2 separate regions of the Homo sapiens genome follow, and region 1 is linked to region 2. Evidence: promoter capture Hi-C in 16 types of primary human blood cells and fetal thymus (Javierre and others, 2016). All regions are on one chromosome and are shown on one strand. The core of a region is centred on a gene start or on the middle of the fragment in contact, and the rest is flanking DNA. Distances in the headings are between cores, read along the strand shown. Region 1 holds the start of CIAO2A (cytosolic iron-sulfur assembly component 2A). Region 2 holds the start of HERC1 (HECT and RLD domain containing E3 ubiquitin protein ligase family member 1).

Region 1 (5,685 bases), core at 128-2,627, 260 kb before region 2:
TTGATCAATCCCGAGGCTGCTGAGAGACGGTGGCGCGATTGGGACAGTCGCCAGGGATGGCTGAGCGTGAAGATGCAGCGGGTGTCCGGGCTGCTCTCCTGGACGCTGAGCAGAGTCCTGTGGCTCTCCGGCCTCTCTGAGCCGGGAGCTGCCCGGCAGCCCCGGATCATGGAAGAGAAAGCGCTAGAAGTTTATGGTAATTAATTTTACCCAGCACAGCATTTGGCGTTATAGGTGCAGGCCGGAGCTGAGGGGTGCGGGGATGATGGCCTCACCTGAGGGCTGGGAGGGGAGACCTTTTTTTTTGTTTGTTTGTTTGTTTGTTTTTGGCCAGATCTTGTCCGGGGCGTAGCAGGCGCTTTCTTCGGGGTCCTAAGTCACGTGGGGGGTGTGGGTCTTTCTGGGAACTGGGCTCTTCGTAAACCTGGGGCAAGCCGAACCCAGAGGTCTTAAAAGCTTCATTCTCCACGTGTGGCCTACGTCTTAGTAACCATTCCAAGACTTGTGGGGAGACCACAAGTCTAGGGTGCCTGGTTAGGAAGCAAAGCTGGCCTGATTGCACTACTAGAGCCTCGTTCTCTAGCTCCTGGACACGCACTCTTGCTACCGCTGAGGGCGCTTGTGGGTGACAGTCGAGTTGGGGACTGGCCCAAGGTCACAGCCACTCTATCCGGCAAAGTCAGTAAGCAGAGGTCCCCGAAAGAAGAGAACGAGATTGGCTTCTTGTAGCAAGGCCTTGTGTACACACACATAACGCACACACACACATACACACTCTTCCATGTTGCATATTAAATATTTTCTGTTTAACCCTTGGGGCCATCTTTATTGTACAAATGAGGAAACAAAGGTTAAAGAACTACCTGGAGGTCACACTGCCAGTAAGGAACAGAGCCAAAAAGCAAAGGCTGTGCCTACTGGTTCTAACCGTAATGCACTTTCCACCACTTCACAATTGCCTTACAACTTTTTGTTTGTTTGTTTTTTTAATTATGTTGTATTGTTTTTGAAAACCGAAAAGACTGGATATAATATTGAGAGATCTAACCATAGAATACAAATATAATTCAAGTAAGGATTATAGGCCAGTAGAAGGAAGCCAGGGTTAGGAAATACTCTGGGAGCTAATTTGGTTGACCTCTCTTACTAGAGGCAGGACTTACCTAATCAGCCTCCAGGCAGATGATAATTGTGAGTAAAATGATCTCCACAAAGCAGACCACATCCCTGTCCTGCCAGATCTCTGTCCACATAATCTAGGGATGGTAGGGCACTGGAGATACAACTTTGGAAGAGAGTGACTCTAGTCTTCAAACTGATATTGAAGGAAACCCATATATGCAAAAATAGAGTATGTAATAGAAGGCTGTAGACTGAATAAGAGATACAGAAATTCAGAGAAAGGGAGATACTAGTCTCTGACTGAGGGGATCTAGAAAGACTTTGAAATAAAGAGAAGGAGCCACTTGAGTTGGGCCTCAAAGAATAATTAGGATCTAGATATGTAGAGGGTCAGAGGGCATACTAAGAGGAAACTTAAAAGCATGGAGGTAAGAAGATAGGAAATGACAGATAGATGGGGCTATAGGATAGGGTTTGTGGTTAAATGTGAAGATGTGGTTGAACATTGTTCTAGGTAGTGGGATGCAGTTGGATACTGAAGGTTTTAAATATAAATGAAGAATTTTAATAGTGCAGTGCTGTGGAAGAATGTTAGTGTGGGGAGTAATATGAGGAGAACTTTCTTTTAAATTTTTTTTTTTTTTTTTTTTTTTTTGAGACAGGGTCTCACTCTGGTAATCAGGCTGGAGTGCAGTGGTGCAATCACTGCTCACTGCAGCCTCCATCCACCTCCAGGGCTCAAGCCATCCTCCCACCTCAGCCTCCTGACTGACTGGGACCATAGGCATGCACCACCATGCCCAGCTAATTTTTGTATTTTTTTGTAGAGATGAGGTTTTGCTATGTTACCCAGGCTGGTCTTGGACTCCTGAGCTCAAGTGATTTGCCTGTCTCGGCCTCCCAAAGGCTGGGATTACAGGCATGAGCCACCACACCCGGCCCTTCTTTCTTTTTAAAGAAGTAAAGCCAAACCTCTCAAATCTAGAAACTAGAAAACTAGAGAAATTTAATAAGGATGATATTTAATTTCAGGGTTTAGTGGCATATAAAGAATATAATACAATTAAATGAGCCTTATGGGGAGAAAGCCTAGTATGAGAGGCAGAAAATTCCTTTTCAGAAAACTCTGTTTCCCTAAGTCCCATGATAACACAGCTCTGTGAAAGAGAAGCTTTGTCGACTTTCTTGCCTATGTTTTCCAATTCTGCTTCTTTCTTTCTTTTTTTTTTTTTTTTGAGACAGAGTCTCTTCTGTCACCCAGGCTAGAGTGCAGTGACACAATTTTGGCCCACTGCAGCCTCAGCCTCCTGGGTTCAAGTGATTCTCCTACCTCAGCCTCCTGAGTAGCTGTGATTACAGGCACATGCCACCACACCCGGCTCATTTTTGTATTTTTAGTAGAGACGGGTTTTTGCCATGTTGGCCAGGCTGGTCTTGAACTCCTGAACTCAGGTGGGTGATCCACTTGCCTCAGCCTCCCAAAGTGCTGGGATTACAGGCATGAGCCGTCATGTTTGGCAAAATTCTGTTTCTAATCAAGTGACAAGCCCAGGAGCAAATTAAAGAGAAAATAGAATTTGTTCTTGTTTTTCCCAGTTGCATTTCTGATTACATATAATTTTGTGTGATAAATAATAAAACAAAACTTCAGATTTGAGAACCTCAAGCACATTCTATGTAAAATTCTGCTTCTTTCCTTTCTACCTCACCATTTCTCTTTATTGTTCTCCTTTCCTTCATCTCTTTCTCCAGCCTCAGAGTAAGAAAGAAATCTTGTCTTCTCCAAGGCCAACTGAGACTTCTAAATATTTGATCCCACTCCCTTCTGCTTATTTTACCAGTCTCCGCTCCTCCCAACTTATATTTTCAATTTCTCTCCTCAAAGTTGCCCTTATCCTTGTCATTGTTCTAGCTTCCTTATAAAGTCATTGTCCTTTTCATGTCCCTCCCTTCCCAGCTAAGGCCCTAGGAAGACATTTTCAGTTCCTACTTGCTTCCCCTTTTGCAAGCTGGCTTCAGCGCACGCACTCTCTACTGAAACTGCTTTCTTACAGCTGGCTGGGGTGACAAATGAAAGACCTGTTTTAGCTCTCATGAGCCTGAATTTTTCTGCAGCATTTAATGTTATTAACCATCCCTCTCTTCCCTCCTCTAGTTCTTTTTGCTTTTGTTTCTCATTCTGATCCCTAAGTTAGGTGCTTCGCATGGATCTGTTGGGTCTCTTTTTTCTTTATACCACTGATTCTCATACTGGGTTGTACCTAAGAACAACCCGAGAAATTTTTAAAACTCAAAGGCCAGCAAACCAATTAAATCAGAGTCTCTGGAATTGGGGCCCAGGCATCAGGTTTTTTTGTTTGTTTGTTTTTGTTTTTGAGACGGAGTTTTTGCTCTGTTGCCCAGGTTGGAATGCAATGGCGGGATCTCGGCTCACTGCAACCTCTGCCTTCTGGTTTCAAGTGATTCTCCTGCCTCAGTCTCCTAAGTAGCTGGGATTACAGGCGCCCGGCACCACGCCTGGGTAATTTTTGTATTTTTAGTAGAGACGAGGTTTTACCATGTTCACCAGGCTGGTCTCGAACTCTTGACCTCAGGCGATCCACCCGCCTCAGCCTCCCAAAGTGCTAGGATTATAGGCCTGAACCACGCGCCCGGCCTTGTTGTTTGTTTTGAAACATTCTTGGTAATTCCAATGTTCAGCCAAGGTTCTACTTATTCTTTGTGAATCCTGTGGGTTTGACAACCACTCTAGCTTTGATGCTGTTTTAAACTCTATGCTACAGTTTACCACTTGCTAGAAAACTCCATTGGATAACCCCTTAAGCACCTCAAAATCATTCTGTGTGAAATTGAACTCATTTGCTCTATGCCCCACCCAAATTTCTTCCTCGTTCTGTTTCTTTTAGTTCTGCCAGTGTTGTCCTAGATACTATTTTAGGCCTGGTGTTTTTAGCTGGTATCATTGGTTCTGCTTTTTAGTCTGAGTCTAGCAGCTGATGATGAGTTACCAGCTGACAGCACAGTGTTGTCCATGTCACTTGTCTCAAACCTCTTGAGGACTTGCTATTGCCGGTAGCTGGCTGTAAAAGACACTTGATGGTCAGACCCAAATCTCATACTCTAAAACACCTTTCACTTATGCCTGCTTCCAGGCAAACTAGGGTTCTTCTTCTTTACTTTACTTTCCTTCACTTTTTTTTTTTTTTTGAGACAGGGTCTCGCTTTGTTGCCCAGCCTAGAGTGCGGTGACACGATCTCCGCTCTCAACCTCTGCCTCCTGGGCTCAAGCGATCCTCCTGAGTGGCTGGGACCACAGGCCTGCACCACTACACCCGGCTAATTTTTGTGTGTATTTTTTGTAGAGACGGGGGTCTCATTATGTTGCTGAGGCTGGTCTCGAACTTCTGAGCTCAAGTGATCCTCCCGCCTTTGCCTCTCAAAGTGGTTGGTTTACAGGTGTGAGCCACCATGCCCAGCTACTTTCCTTCACTTTAAATGTCAAATATTGAAATGTTACCTATTTTTCAAGGCTTGATTCAGATTCCGCTCCTATAAAGCCTGATAACCACATTCTTTCAAGCTGAAAGTTATTTCTTCCTCTTGAGCTTCCATGACACTGTTTCCATTCTTATTATATTTTCTCTGCAATGTCCGATTGGAGAAACTGGATATGGTCTTATAATAATCCAAGAAAACAGTTTTCTCAAGAGGAAACCAGTAGTGAAAATTTCTGTCAGAAACCTGGGAGTTGCTGTACTATTTGCTTAAACGTAAGAGAAGTCAGTGCTTAAATTAGGCCTGGCAAAATCATCTTTATTTAGAATAGTCATGTTTTAATAGAATATCTTATCTCTGATGATTCTTTAGATTTGATTAGAACTATCCGGGACCCAGAAAAGCCCAATACTTTAGAAGAACTGGAAGTGGTCTCGGAAAGTTGTGTGGAAGTTCAGGAGATAAATGAAGAAGAATATCTGGTTATTATCAGGTTCACGCCAACAGTACCTCATTGCTCTTTGGCGACTCTTATTGGTAAGTTTTTCTGTACATACATGTATATTTATATAAATTCTAAGTTATTCTTGCTGATATTGACCCATAATAACAATTTGCATCATTGTTGAAAAACCATACAGTGTATGTATTACACTTTATGGTTTACAGAGTATGTTCGTGTATTCATCTTCTGTAGTCCTCACAATTAGCTTGTTGAGTTAAAATATTATTATCTTCATTTTGCAGATGAGGAACCTGAAGCTCAGAGAGTTTAAGTGACTTGCACAGAATCAGGTAGCCAGGAAATGGTGAAACTAAGGCTCATACCCAGGTCTCCTGACTCCACTTCTCCTTTAGTTATGTCAGGCTGCCCCTCCCAGGTATATATGCCCACAATTAATGGAGAGTGCATGTGGGCCAGTGCTTTTCCTCAGTTCTGGAGGTTGGAGTGGGTGGTGTCAGACTAGCATTGCTTCCATCACCATCTCCTTTCAGTGACTCTTCTGGTTTCTACATAGTATGGGTAGAAGTCCTGGTAGGAGGTTGGATTCCCAGTATTTTGGATTT
Region 2 (5,757 bases), core at 391-2,890:
TCTAGCCTGGGCAACAAGAGCAAAACTCCATCTCAAAAAAAAGAAAAAGAAAAAGTGGGCAAAACCAGTACAATTTTACAAATTCAAGAAAGACAGAATATCATATTTGTGAGTGACGTAGATGACATCAACAAGTTAAAAGGAGGAGCTTTTGCTTGTTGTTTTTGAGTATGCTTCACACACAATACCCAGATCATAAAGCACTAGCAACAATGACATCACTCCTCATGTAGCTACTCCCTTACATCATTTACCAGAAATACACATTTTATACATAGAAACTTAAAAGCTACACACCTAAGACCCATCATTTAATGAGTACTTAATATGTGCCGTATGTGAGCTTTACATATATTTTACTCCTCAGAGGAACCTTGTGATAACAAGAACTGGCATTATAAATTGACACATAAGGAACTGAGGTTCAGAGAGGTCAAGCAACTTGCCCAAGGTCACACACCTGGGGTAAGTGGGATTCCAGAATTCCCACCAGTGTCTGACAGTGAAGCACATGGCTCCTAACTCTTGGACTAAACTGCCTCATGTGACACACAAACATGTATCTAATTTAACCATGGGAAAGCACTCCCTCGTCTGTCTATACCGTAATTTCTTACATTAGTGACACATTCATGGCTTGTATGTTTGTGTGCTTCTCCTACGCCTCCAATTGGATTGCAAACTTCTGGAACGCAGAGGCCAACTCTATTTTTTGTCCCCAAGTCATCGGTCAGTTTAATTGATGCTCGTTAGAATATCTGGAAGGAAAGACACCATGAAGGTGGCTGGAAAGGAGTAAAACCAGGTACAGAAGGAGGAAGATGGAGATGGGGTATTCACTCAACAATTTAATGTCCACTTGGACCTATGTTAGGCGCTGGAGATATGGTGAGGACTGAGCCAGTCTGTGTCCTTCCCCTCATGGGGTTTCACGTGGAGGTCGAGGTCATGATCAAGGATGTAAGTCACCCAAAGGACACTACTGTGTTCCCAAGCAGAAAAGAAAACCGAGGAGCCAGGCCCTGGCATCTGCAGGGTTCTGGCAGTCCCATAAGGCGCAAAGACATGAACAAGGTGGAAGAGTAGGTCAAGTGAAACGCTTTTATGTGATTGAACTTAGCCGGCCGGAGGGCCGGGGCCGCTGCGATGAGAGATAAAGAGCGTGGGGCGCCGGGTGCGAGGCGGAGATAAAGGGGTGAGGCCCTGGCCCTGCCGCCGGCCGTAACACGTGTCCCTTCGCCTGGCGGCGGGGTCTTCCCTGCCCACCACGAGGAAAAGGGGGCGCACTGCATGGCCCCCCACTCCTCACCACCCTTTGTGAAACGCCCCCAATTGTGCTTCATCTGTGGAGTCAGGTCCCCGCAGGCGGTCGGGGCTGCCCGGATTCCGCGACGGCTGAAGGGTGAGGGCCGCGCGGTAGCAAAGTGTCCCCAGCACCTAGCTTGGCTCCCCTCGCTCCCAAATCCCTTTCCCCTTTTCGCTCAACCCCCAACTCCACCTCAGCCGCCTTCCTCTCGGTTCCCCTTTCACCTCCCGCGCTGGGCCTGTTGGGCGGGGCGAGGGCTCCCGGCTGCGCGAGAGTTCCGCCCAAATCTCGTGAGACTCGCCTGACGCCGCCGCTGCTGCCGCCGCCTCTTACGTCTTTCCCTTTGACAAGTCGCTGCTGCTGCAGCAAAAATAAAGGACGCGACCGCCGCAGCCTCTGCGGAGCCGGGCTCGGGTCGCCGGAGCCGCGCCCCACCCCGCCAGCTCCAGAGCCACGTACGGTAACGCATCATCTACCGTCCTCCTGGTCCTGTGTGTGTGTGTGTGTGTGTGTGTGTGTGTGTGTGTGCGCGCGCGCGTGTGTGCTTTGCCGGCCGCGCAGGGCCGGCCGGGGCCGTTTCGGGACTGCAGCCGAGCGGGGCTGCTGGGGTCCCGGGTGGGCGGCAGGCGAGCTGGGGGAGCCCTCCTGGCGCGCCGCGGATCCCCCGGGTCCCCGGCTCTAGAGGCCTCCTGCCGCCCGGGCGCCTCGGAGCAGCGTAGAAGCCGAGGCGCCCGCGGAGAGGGCCGAGAGACCCGCCCCTCCAGCGGCTTACAACGTCTGTGCCCCGGCCCCGCTGTGGTCGCGTCTCTTTCTGCTTCATTCCTTTATCTGCTGACCAGCTCCTCTGCCCCGGCTGGGGCTCGGTCCGCGGGCGGCGGCCGACTCCCTCTCAGGGTCCGGGGAGTGCCGCGACCCCGGTGTCCCCAGGCGCCGGCCGCCTTTAGCGGGGTGGAGGCTGGGACGACGTGTCTTCCTCCTCTCCTCTGCCTTTGGGTGAGGGCAGCTCATCATCTGCTAAACCTTTCTCCAAATCTCCCGCCCCAATAAAACAACAAATTATAAAGCCTTTGCAACCGGGAGGCGAGGCGGGGCGCATTGTTTAGTCTTAAGCGTGAGATGAGGATGATGATGGTGATGACAGGAGCTACCCCGGGGAACATGGTGAAATCTGTTCTGTGATGGGTGGCAGGTTACTGGGAGACACGAGGAGGACAGGAGCTTGTACCACCTCTCCCAGGAGGTTATGTAAAAGACATGTTATCTTAGAGAGCTGTGAAACACAGGGACAGATTTGTCTTAGTTTAAGAAATGTCTATAATACTTAGAATATAGAGATAATTAAATGATGGGAATAACAAATCTGAACAAACTAACCCATCTTTGTAATTCCATCTCCAGAGGTGGCATTTCATGGTTAACATTTTATTGTATTTCCTAACAGACACATTTTTTTTTATCCTTGCTTGGGACTTCCTCATTCTATATTTGTTCCAAAAATGATTTATTTTATTTGAATCAGTTCTCTGGCCTGCTTGATTAAAACTGGCTGCTAGTTCATTATCACTGGCTGAACTCTGCCATCACTATCTTTTTCACTGGGCCCTTTTCCAAAATGATTGTTAGCTAAGTGGTTTGAAAAATCAAACGTTAAAACATTGTCTGTTTGGGTCTAGTACCTATGTATATATTATATTTTTACAATTCTGTTAGTGGTGGTTGCTCAAAATGGGGCAGTATTTGTAGAAGGGAAAGAAACTATGATTATTCATAGTGGGAAGAAACCTATTTACCTCAGGTTTTATGAAATTGATTTCTACTGGATATTTTTAGACCAAAATTGTTCTGTGACATTGTTTCATAGTGCCTGTTGTGATTAGTGTGGGATGAGTATGTCTCTTTGATATATGTGTTTCCATAGCCTGCGTTTATACAAGCAAAATTGAATGTCCTAGGTGCCTGTCTTATGCATAAATGTACGTATATATGTATAGAGACACACACACACACACACGTATTCTGCACCTATACACATTTATATATCTTGGAAGTGAGTTAAGATGTATTGCTATATTATTTGAGAAAAGATAGCATTAGGAAGGGCAAAGAACAGTCATAATATTTCCCCCAAATCACATGACAAGGTTGTATGGCAGAATGAGATATCTAGGGAGGTTGGAAATCTGGAGCCTTTTAAAAATAGGATAGATTGTCATCTGGGGTTGTTGTTATTGGAATGGATTAAATGGCCTATTAAGGCCTCTTGTAATTCTAAACTTTTATGAATTTTGCGTTCCCTAAGGTTCTTATCATTTTGCTTCTTAAATTTCCAGTCATGCTGTTTGCATGTGACACATCCATTCATTTGCTGGTCATGTATTCCATTTCCAATGCAGGCACCCTGATGTTGCATGGAAGAGAAAGCAAATGTAAATGCGTCACTTAATCTGCTTATTAATATAAACATCTCTTGAAAATCTCAATTTAAAGAAATTTTGGAGAATGTGTTGGTGATTGGACTGGATTGGGTTAGTAGAGGGTGCAAATAATAAATAGTAATAACAATTCCAACGTTCCAAGCATGTTTTCCCCCAAAAAAGTCATACTGAATACTCCCTAATATTTGAAATAGAAAAAAAAGGGGGCTGGGTATATTGAAGGAGCTGACCTTTTAAAATTTTTAAAATTCAGATTTTCAGATCTTAAAATGATGATAATGATGACATCGTGGCTTGGAGAGTGAGAAGGTTGTGTTAGGATAAAAAGAAACTTGTGAAACAAAACTTGAATGTTATAGTTGGATAACTATATAATAGCAAGTAACAAACTTACTATAATCTGTTGAAGCTATTTTTAAAAATTGTAAATAGAACTTTTGGCCAGATTACAGTAGCTCACGCCTGTAATCTCAGCCCTTGGGGAGGCCGAGGTGGGAGGATGGCTTGAGCCCAGGAGTTTAAGATCAGTCTGGGCAACATGGTGAAACCTTGTCTCTATGGTAAATACAAAAATTTGCTGGACGTGGTGGTGCATACCTGCAATTCCTGCTATTAGGGAGGCTGAGATGGGAGGATCAATTGAGCCTGGGAGATTGAGGCTGCAGTGAGCTGTGATTGCACCACTCTACTCCAGCCTGGGAGACACAGTGAGACTCTATCTCAAAAGCAAAATAAAACAAAACAAACAACAACAAAGGTCTACACAACTTTGGCTTAACATACACATGAAATACATTGTTGTGAGCATGTATTGCAGATTATCATGATGTTGAAAACATAAAAAGTTGGTCAAATCATTTACAGAGAAGTTTGCAAAGCCAGGAAGGTCACATCTGCTAGCATTTTCTTTAACTACAAAAAGTGAAAAAGAGCATAAAGTAGTTGTTTACTTACTAGATGCCAGATCCGATTTTCATGATTTTAGTTTGTTCTGATGTTGCCTACCGGGCTCTCTAAATTAATGGGACTGTTAAATTTCAGATGAGATCCTTGAGCAAGAAGATATGACAGTTGTATCAGATGATTGGTTGATGGATTTTATTTATTTTTAATGATTTATTTAGAAATAATGTTAGACTTACAGAAAAGTTACAGAGAGAGTACAGAGTTCTTACATACTCTTCACCAAGCTCCCCCTAATGTTAACAACTTACATAACCATAATACAGTGATCAAAACCAGAAGTTAGCATTGGTGTAACTCTATTGACTATAGATTTTACTTAATTTCACTGGTTTTTCCCCATTAATGCCTTTTTTTTTGTTCTAGGGTCTAATCTAGGTTCCCACGTTGCATTTAGTTGTTGTGTCTTCTTCATTTCCTCCAATCTCTGACAGTTCCTCAGTTTTTGTTTTTCACGACCTTGACATTTTTGATGAGTACTGTTATTTTTTAGAACTTCTTTCATTTTGGGTTTGTCTGATGTTTTTTCTCATGATTTGATTGAGGTTAAGCATGTTTTGCAAGAAAACTACAGAAGCGATGTTGTGTCCTTCTCAATGCATCATATTGGGGGTACATGGTGTTGACATGTCTTTTTGCTAGTGGTATTTTAACTTTGAACCCTTAGCGGTATTCTTCACAGTAAAGTTACTATTCTTCCCTTTATTGTTCATACATATCTTGGGGGAGACACTTTGAGACTGTGGATGTACAGTTTCTCCTCAAACTTTCTCCCATTGATTTTTAACATCCATTGGTAGATCTTGTCTGCAACAGTTATTACTGTGGTGTTTGGCTAATCATGATTTTGTATTTCCCTCATTCCTTCTGCATTTATTAATTGGAATTCTTTAAGGGAGAGATGTCCCCTTTCCCTCACTTATTTATTCAATTATTTGTTTATATTAGTGTGTTCTTATGGGATCTCTATTTTCTATGGATTATAATCCAATACTATCATTATTTATTTTGTTGTTCAAATTGTTCCAGCTTTGGCCATTGGAAGCTCTTTCA

Evidence for each region. The method cuts DNA at HindIII sites, captures the fragments that hold promoters and counts their contacts. A CHiCAGO score of 5 or more calls a contact.
Region 1: a contact is called between a fragment that was not itself captured here and the fragment with the promoter of HERC1 in region 2, in 14 of 17 cell types (naive B cells, M2 macrophages, erythroblasts and 11 more). The highest score is 12.4, in naive B cells.

The regions. Positions count from the first base shown.
Region 1 is chr15:64,088,156-64,093,840 of GRCh38, reverse strand. It overlaps CIAO2A (cytosolic iron-sulfur assembly component 2A), which reads left to right and starts at 3. Exons shown (of 5, transcript NM_032231.7): 1 at 3-196; 2 at 4,990-5,154. The coding sequence starts at 73. RefSeq lists enhancers at 1-320, 681-730, 366-928, 4,252-4,301, 4,352-4,411. The HindIII fragment of the contact is 1,837 bases long and covers 459-2,295 here.
Region 2 is chr15:63,829,831-63,835,587 of GRCh38, reverse strand. HERC1 (HECT and RLD domain containing E3 ubiquitin protein ligase family member 1) reads left to right here and starts at 1,640. Exons shown (of 78, transcript NM_003922.4): 1 at 1,640-1,761. RefSeq lists enhancers at 1,452-1,581, 755-1,618, 1,619-2,484 and a silencer at 1,822-2,251. The HindIII fragment of the contact is 17,710 bases long and covers 1-5,757 here.